Regions from separate parts of the Homo sapiens genome. Here region 1 is linked to region 2. The links are contacts of gene promoters, found by promoter capture Hi-C in human tissues and cell types (Jung and others, 2019). All regions are on one chromosome and are shown on one strand. The core of a region is centred on a gene start or on the middle of the fragment in contact, and the rest is flanking DNA. Distances in the headings are between cores, read along the strand shown. Region 1 has its middle 20 kb from the start of NUDT2. Region 2 holds the start of DCTN3 (dynactin subunit 3).

Region 1 (3,335 bases), core at 197-2,696, 270 kb before region 2:
TGCAATCTCAGCTCACTGCAAGCTCCGCCTCCCATGGCCCAGGTTCTTTATGTAGAGTTTCAGTGGATTAAGTGAGCAGGGCAAGCAAAGAGATTGCTGATGTGGTCGTCTTTACACTCCACAGGAGTTTCCCTGGGGAATAAGCTTAGGGAATGGGGAGCTAGAAGAGCATCTTGCTCCATCATGGGGTTGGCTCCAGAGTGTAGCCTGTTGCTTCTTTTTACAGGGATCAGAAGAAAGATGACCAAGGTTGGGCATGTGGCATTGGCTCACACCTGTAATCCCAGCACTTTGGGAGGCAGAGGCAGGAGGATCACTTGAGCCCAGGAGTTAGAGACCAGCCTGGGCAATGTAGTGAGACTCCATCTCTAACAACAACAACAAAAAATTAGCCAGGCATGGTGGTGTGTACCTGTAGACCCAGCTACTCAGGAGACTGAGGAGGGGAGAATTGCTTAAGCCCAGGAGGGTGAGGCTGCAGTGAACCAAGATTGTGCCACTGCACTCCAGCCTGGGTGCTAGAGTGAGACCCTTATCTCAAAATTAATTAATTTTTTTTTTTTTTTTGAGACGGAGTCTTGCTCTGTCACCTAGGCTGGAGCGGAGTGGCGCAACCTCAACTCACTGCAGCCTCTGCCTCCCGGGTTCAAGTGATTCTTCTGCCTCAGCCTCCTGAGTAGCTGGGTCTACAGGTACACACCACCACACCCAGCTAATTTTTTTTTGTATTTTTAGTAGAGACAGGGTTTCACCATGTTAACCAGGATGGCCTCGATCACCTGACCTCGTGATGTGATCTGCCCGCCTCGGCCTCCCAAAATGCTGGGATTATAGGCGTGAGCCACCGTGCCCAACCAATTAATGTTTAAAAAAAAGGAAGAAGAAGAAAAATGACCAGTTCTTCCCAAGTTCTCCATAGAGGGTGACTTAGGGAAGGAGCCTAGGCAGAACCACAGTTTGGAGAGGAGAAGCCTCTGGCTTGAGATACCTTTGTTTAAACATTTATGTCATCACTTTTGTGGCTCCTAAAGTCCTGCCTCCTTCAAATAGCTTTCCCAGGCTACTCAGAAATTTCTGGTTTCCGTTTCCCTAATGGCTACTTCCTCTCTCTCAAAACTCATCTGGCACCTTAGGAAGTTGCTTCATTAAAAAAAAAAAAATCTGTATCCAGTATGACCATTGCTCCTTTAGCTCAGGGGTCCCCTCCCACCCACCCTCTCAAGATGACCAGTGTTGGCTGGGCACAGTGGCTTACGCCTGTAATCCCAGCACTTTGGGAGACCGAGTTGGGTGGATCACCAGAGGTCGGGAGTTCGAGACCAGCCTGGCCAACATGGTGAAACCCCGTCTCTACTAAAAAATACAAAATATTAGCTGGGAGTGGTGGTGGGCACCTCTAATCCCAGCTACTCAGGCAGCTAAGGCAGGAGAATCGCTTGAACCCAGGAGATGGAGGTTGCAGTGAGCCGAGATTGTGCCACTACACTCCAGCCTGGGCAACAGAGCGAGACTTTGCCTCAAAAAACAACAACAACAACAACAACAACAACAAAAAACAAAAAAAAGAATTACCAGTGTCGTTGGCCCTCCAACCCTAGGCCTTTTCCTCCCTGCCTATCTCATGTGCACTGTGTCTCAGACACTCTCAAAGATCATCATTCTCAGACACACATGCTGAGGCAAAAGGCACAGGGCTGAGAGAAGCCATGTGGAGTGATGGTCTGGTGTTTATCTCTGGCTTTGTCACTACCTGGATACGTGATCTTGGGCAAGCTCTGAACCTCTCTGGACATTATTTTCCTCATTACAACAAGGGAGTTGGACAAGATGATCTCAATGGTTTCTTCCAGATCTGACAACCTGTAGGATTGGGTTTGAATTTTGACTCCTCAGATTACTGTGTAAAGATCAAAGCTCCGAAAGACGCTTCCTCTGTTTGATTATTCTGTTTTTCTAAGACACTCTAGTTTTCTAATTTGAAGTTCAAAGTGCTAAGTGTAAAGTTATTCAGTAAGTATTGCTTAGACTAGTATATAATTTAAAATACCTGAATACCCATTACCAGGGATTAATAAACTTTGACACATGCATGATATGAAATATTATGCAGCCATAAAAAAAAATAGGATGGTCCTTACATAGAACCTTTGTACCTATTAAAATTTAAATTTAGGCCAGGCGCGGTGGCTCATGCCTATAATCCCAGCACTTTGGGAGGCCAAGGCAGGTGGATCACGAGGTCAGGAGTTCAAGACCAGCCTGGCCAAAATGGTGAAACCCTCTCTCTACTAAAAATACAAAAATTAGCTGAGCATGGTGGCACATGCCTGTAGTCCTAGCTATTTGGGAGGCTGAGGCAGAGAATTGCTTGTACCCAGGAGGTGAAGGTTGCAGTGAGCCAAGATCATGTCATTGCACTCCAGCCTGGGCAACAGAGCTAGACTCCATTTCAAAAAAATAAATAAATAAGAACAAAAGCAAAATGCCATATGCGGGGCTATCTGGCCACCAGTGGAATCAGGGGTCTGACGCAGTGTGGTGGCCAGCTGGGACAGGATAGGGGATGGAGCAGTCAGCCATGTTGCTCTTTGCAGCACTTTGGCTTTCTTTCTCTTTTTCTTTCTTTCATTTCCCACACTACACCGATGAGTTTTGCTTTCTTGAGTGGATGTTGAGGGTGACGATGACGACTCCCAGGACAAATGCCAGGCCAAAGGGCTGAAGCCAACATGGCTGTCTGAAATTGGTTCGGTAAAGGAAGAGAATAATGTTGTGCTTCCTTCTTGACCTAATCGCCACTTCTAGTGGAGCTATAAGTACACCTGTTGGAAGGTGAGAATAGCATAAACTCTCTCTTCCAAACTATCTCCTTTACATTTCTTCCATCACTCCTACCCAAGATCATGCATAGTGTTTATTCCCAAGGACATATGGGCACTTATCTTTCTGTAGTCAGTTGAATGTCTTTTCCAATGGTCTAGCTTCTCTGGCAGGAGTCAGAGAATTACAATGTGAAGAACAATTGTGCAACTCTGTTTAAAAGTTAGGTATGAGAATTGGGGTCATTTTAATATGGACTGGATATTAGATCATATTAGGGAATTATTAATTTTCTTAGATATGAAAAACAGTTGTGTAGGAAAATGGCCTTAGGAAATGCATGCTGAAGAATTTAGGATGTAGTGTCACAATGTCAGTAAGTAATGCAACTTTGAAATGGTTCAGGCCAGGTGTCTCATGCCTGTAATCCCCCACTTGAGGAGGCTGAGGTAGGAGGATCACTTGAGCCCGGGAGCTTTAGACCAGCCTGAGCAACATAGTGAGACCCTGTCTCT
Region 2 (3,701 bases), core at 802-3,301:
TAGAGCTCTTATTTCATAACTTAGGACACTGTCATGGGCTTGAGGTTTAGCCACAAGGTAGAAAAGCACACCACAATTTACCAATTGAATTGGGTGTAGGTAAATGTCCTCATAATCTTTCTATCCCCAAAGGGCTATTCCAGTGACCTAATGAACTGAAGGGCTAGGGCCAGGTACCAGGAAGCTGAGGGGTGGGATGTCGGGCAGGCAGGCACATCATGGAAGCACTTACTCTTTTTGTAGAGAATCTTCACCCTCTCCCTCTTGCTGGAAATGTTCCCCAAAGCCACCTGCACCTTGACCAGGCCGTCAGCCACCTGTAAGGGAAGTGGTGGTTAATTCCAAGATATACTACCTGGCTCAAGGCTTGGAAAAGTTAAAGAACCCTCATTCTCCCAGACTCTCAAACCTGAATCCCAGTAATCTAGGTTGGCCTCCCTTCTCTAATATTAAAGGAGATGCAGCCCCACCTTCCAGGAATCCTTAAAGTGGAGAGAGAGAATCATGTACTCCTTGGGGAGTTTCAAGTCTGATGGGGAAGATAACGAACTATTTTAGAGTCTATGGAATATAGAGTATACACAATATATTTTCTGGTTCCTAAGTCCTGGGTTTGGGCATGAGAAACACAAGCATCCTCATTCAAGCCTTCATGACCTCTAGATTGGCTGGCCTACCTCTAGCCCTATCCCCTCCACATCAAATTTGGTGTGGGAGATGGAAGAGTCCAAACAACTGGGATCCCAATGATGGTGCAATCACTGAATTAGGGAATACAGAAGAGAATCAGGTTAGGGGAGAGAAAGAGTACAGTTAAGGGCATACAGATTGAGTTTGAAATGACTATTGGATATCCAAGTGGAAAAGTCCAGTAGACAACTAGACATAAAAGTCTGGTTCTCAGAACAGAAATCTGGACCAGAGATATACATTTGAGACATATTGACATGTAAATAGTAATTGACACCATGGAAGCGAGTGAGCCTACCTAAAGTTTAGGGGTAGAATGTAAAGAATCCCAATATTAAAGGGTCAAATAGAGGAGGAGACTAAGGAAGTGACTGCACTCACCCAGTTTTTAGGGTAGAGGATGAGGAATGCCAGGGGGGAGGCAAATAACACTGAGAAGCAGCCGTAAGAGGTAGAAGGAAAACCAGGAGGGTCAGCGTCATAGATCCCAAAGGAAGAGAATGTTTGAGAAGTTAGTTCTGAAATGGGAGCACAGTCTGCTAGTGACAACTAATTCCTCATTTAGTGTACAAACAGACATCATTACCTTGGACGCACTTAGCTCCAGGACATGCCTGACACGCCATCAGAAGTTCTTCAATAAAAGATCTTCCCATAGTAGAAAGGGGAGGAGAGGGCACCTGAGCTTCGTAGTTGTCAAAATTCTGTCACTGGTATAAAGCAGTGCTAGTCCACATCTGAATACCCAGTACCCAGTCTCTTCCCTTCCTAATCCTGGTCCTTTCAGACCTCACTTCTCACCCTTTGGCGTTTTCCTTATCCACCTCTGCTCTGCCTCCCCAGGGGTCCCATGGACCTCTTCCTGCACAATTCATTTAGCAATTAATTATGCAGGGCTCTATGACGGGCCTTCCTATCGTGGACTTCAGCTCTTATTGAAACTCTCATTAGTCAGCTTCTCGTGTCAGGTCTCCCCAACTATAGCTCGCGAGGGCAAGGGCGGAGTCTCAGCTACAGTAGGTACGGAGCCCACTCTCAGGCTGGCTTAACCACCCGCAGAGCCCCCTATGACAGTGGACCCCGATGGTCCAATCAGCTCTGGGAGGTCCCGGACCTTTGTTATTTCAAAGGCCGGGCTGCGGAGAACAGGACTGGAGCGGTTGCATCCCGAGGGCCAGGACAGTGGACCGCTCTTGCTCTGCTCCAGAAAGGGACTACCGGACCAGACTACTCACCTTCCGTGAGCCGCGCGCCCCGCCCGGCCCGTACACCCAGCGCTCCAGCTCTTCCACTCGGGCCTGTAGCCGCTGCAAGTCAGTCAGACCCGCCATCGCTACTACCGACCCACCTCGGCCAGGAAACAGCCAGAGGGCGGGACGTCAGTCCAAATAAGAAGGCTAGCCAATCCGAGTGCACGAGCGGCCCTTTATGCAGGAAGTGACGCCATGATTCAGCCCTTCAGTGCCGGAAGTTACTCCTCGGAGCTGTCAAAAGCTGATTACCTTGGCAACGGCTCTGTCCCATCCCTCCCCTGGCTTCCAGTGCCTGGTTGTCAAGATAACCTTTGCTTTTCGGGTACCAAAGAGCTTTCCCCACGCCATTCCCTGAGTTTGCACGTGTTCCAGGATAGGTCCATTCCCATAGATACATCATTAGGAGGCTCCGTGAGTTACCATAAACTTTTGGAGTCTTCTAAGGTTCAGTTGATTAAGTAACTTGCCCAAGGCCACCCAGCACTATAGGGACAGAAACAGGACTTGAACTCAGGCTGTCTGATTCAAGAGACGGAGCTCTTCTATTCTCACGAAACTTTGCTATTCTGCCTTAACCTCTGAAAGCCCCTGGCCCAAGGCAGCCTATGTTCCACATCATTCCTCCCCACCTCCCATACCCAAACAAGAAAGGAGGCATCAGAGAGGGAGGGACCGCAGCTTTATTGTCTAGATGTGACCTGAGGGATGTCTCTTTCACAGTACCCCAACCCAACCTTTCACTTGGCTCCTGAAGAGAAGCAGGGCTGACTCAAAAGGGTAGGGTCCTAGAGATGACATTGACAGAGGGAACACATGAGGAGATGATGGGGTTACTGGAGGAAGAACCCTTTGGTAGGTGCTGCTGGAATTGGCCAGGGAGGAGGTGCCCTCCCTTTACAATGAGGTAGGTGTAACATCAAAAGAAACTTTGGTTTTAAGTCCACATGGCATGGGAGGTGTCGTCCCCTCCCAGGGCTGGGTCCCAGAGTGGGCAGCCAGAAAGAATCAAAGCAGGGGGTCTCCTCCCCCCTCAGCAATGGGGCTGGGACTCTTAGTTTCAAGTAGGACCTCTCAGGGCAAGATGCTGGAAGGGGGCCCTGTGGAGGGTGGGGGTGCAGGGTTGGTTGGACCCTGGGAAGCTGGCACAGGCTGGCGGCGGGCAAAGAGGACACCTGGCAAAGGGGTGAGGAGATGGTAGAGGGCAAAAACAAGCAGGAGGGGGTAGGGTATGGAAACAGAAGAGGGGAACAAAAGTAAGTGTTCTGGTTGCTAGAACACTACACACGTACCCCTGCCACAAACCAATGAGGACAAGCTCCTTGGGTCAGTAAGAGACTCCATTGCTAATGTAGATACCTCAAACAGGTAAACAAGGAATATTTATGCTGATACATAGGCCCAAGACAAGGCAGACATCCCCTGGTACTCATGCCAGAGAGGTCATGCCTTGGATCCCATGCCATGTAGACACCCCCTTTAACCCATGCCAGTCTAGCAATCCCCTGAACTCCATGTTACTCATGCAAGTTTAGATATCCCTGAACTTCATGCTAGTAGAGGAAGTCTAAAATCCCCATGCCAGCCTAAATACCCCTGACCCCATGCCAGTGTAGACAGCCTGCAGTACCCATACCAGTGTAGACCACCCCGTTGATCTCTAGGGCCATGTTGATACTGCTGATGCCACTGCCTGCCAGATTAAGAGGCCCATCCAGCCGCTCTTCTGTCCAGGAGGGGGCAGAGGAATCACATTTTGGA

Evidence for each region. Contacts are between HindIII fragments. The study calls those that stand out against the background at their distance.
Region 1: a contact is called between a fragment that was not itself captured here and the fragment with the promoter of DCTN3 in region 2, in 1 of the 25 tissues and cell types used here (lymphoblastoid cells).

The regions. Positions count from the first base shown.
Region 1 is chr9:34,347,685-34,351,019 of GRCh38, forward strand. No RefSeq gene overlaps it. Among named protein-coding and RNA genes, the nearest start is that of NUDT2, 20 kb to the left of the region's middle. The HindIII fragment of the contact is 9,311 bases long and covers 1-3,335 here.
Region 2 is chr9:34,618,444-34,622,144 of GRCh38, forward strand. It overlaps DCTN3 (dynactin subunit 3), which reads right to left and starts at 2,052. Exons shown (of 7, transcript NM_007234.5): 1 at 1,926-2,052; 2 at 233-317. The coding sequence starts at 2,021. ARID3C (AT-rich interaction domain 3C) reads right to left here. Exons shown (of 8, transcript NM_001017363.4): 7 at 3,577-3,666; 8 at 2,606-3,115. The coding sequence ends at 3,015. The HindIII fragment of the contact is 3,867 bases long and covers 1-2,121 here.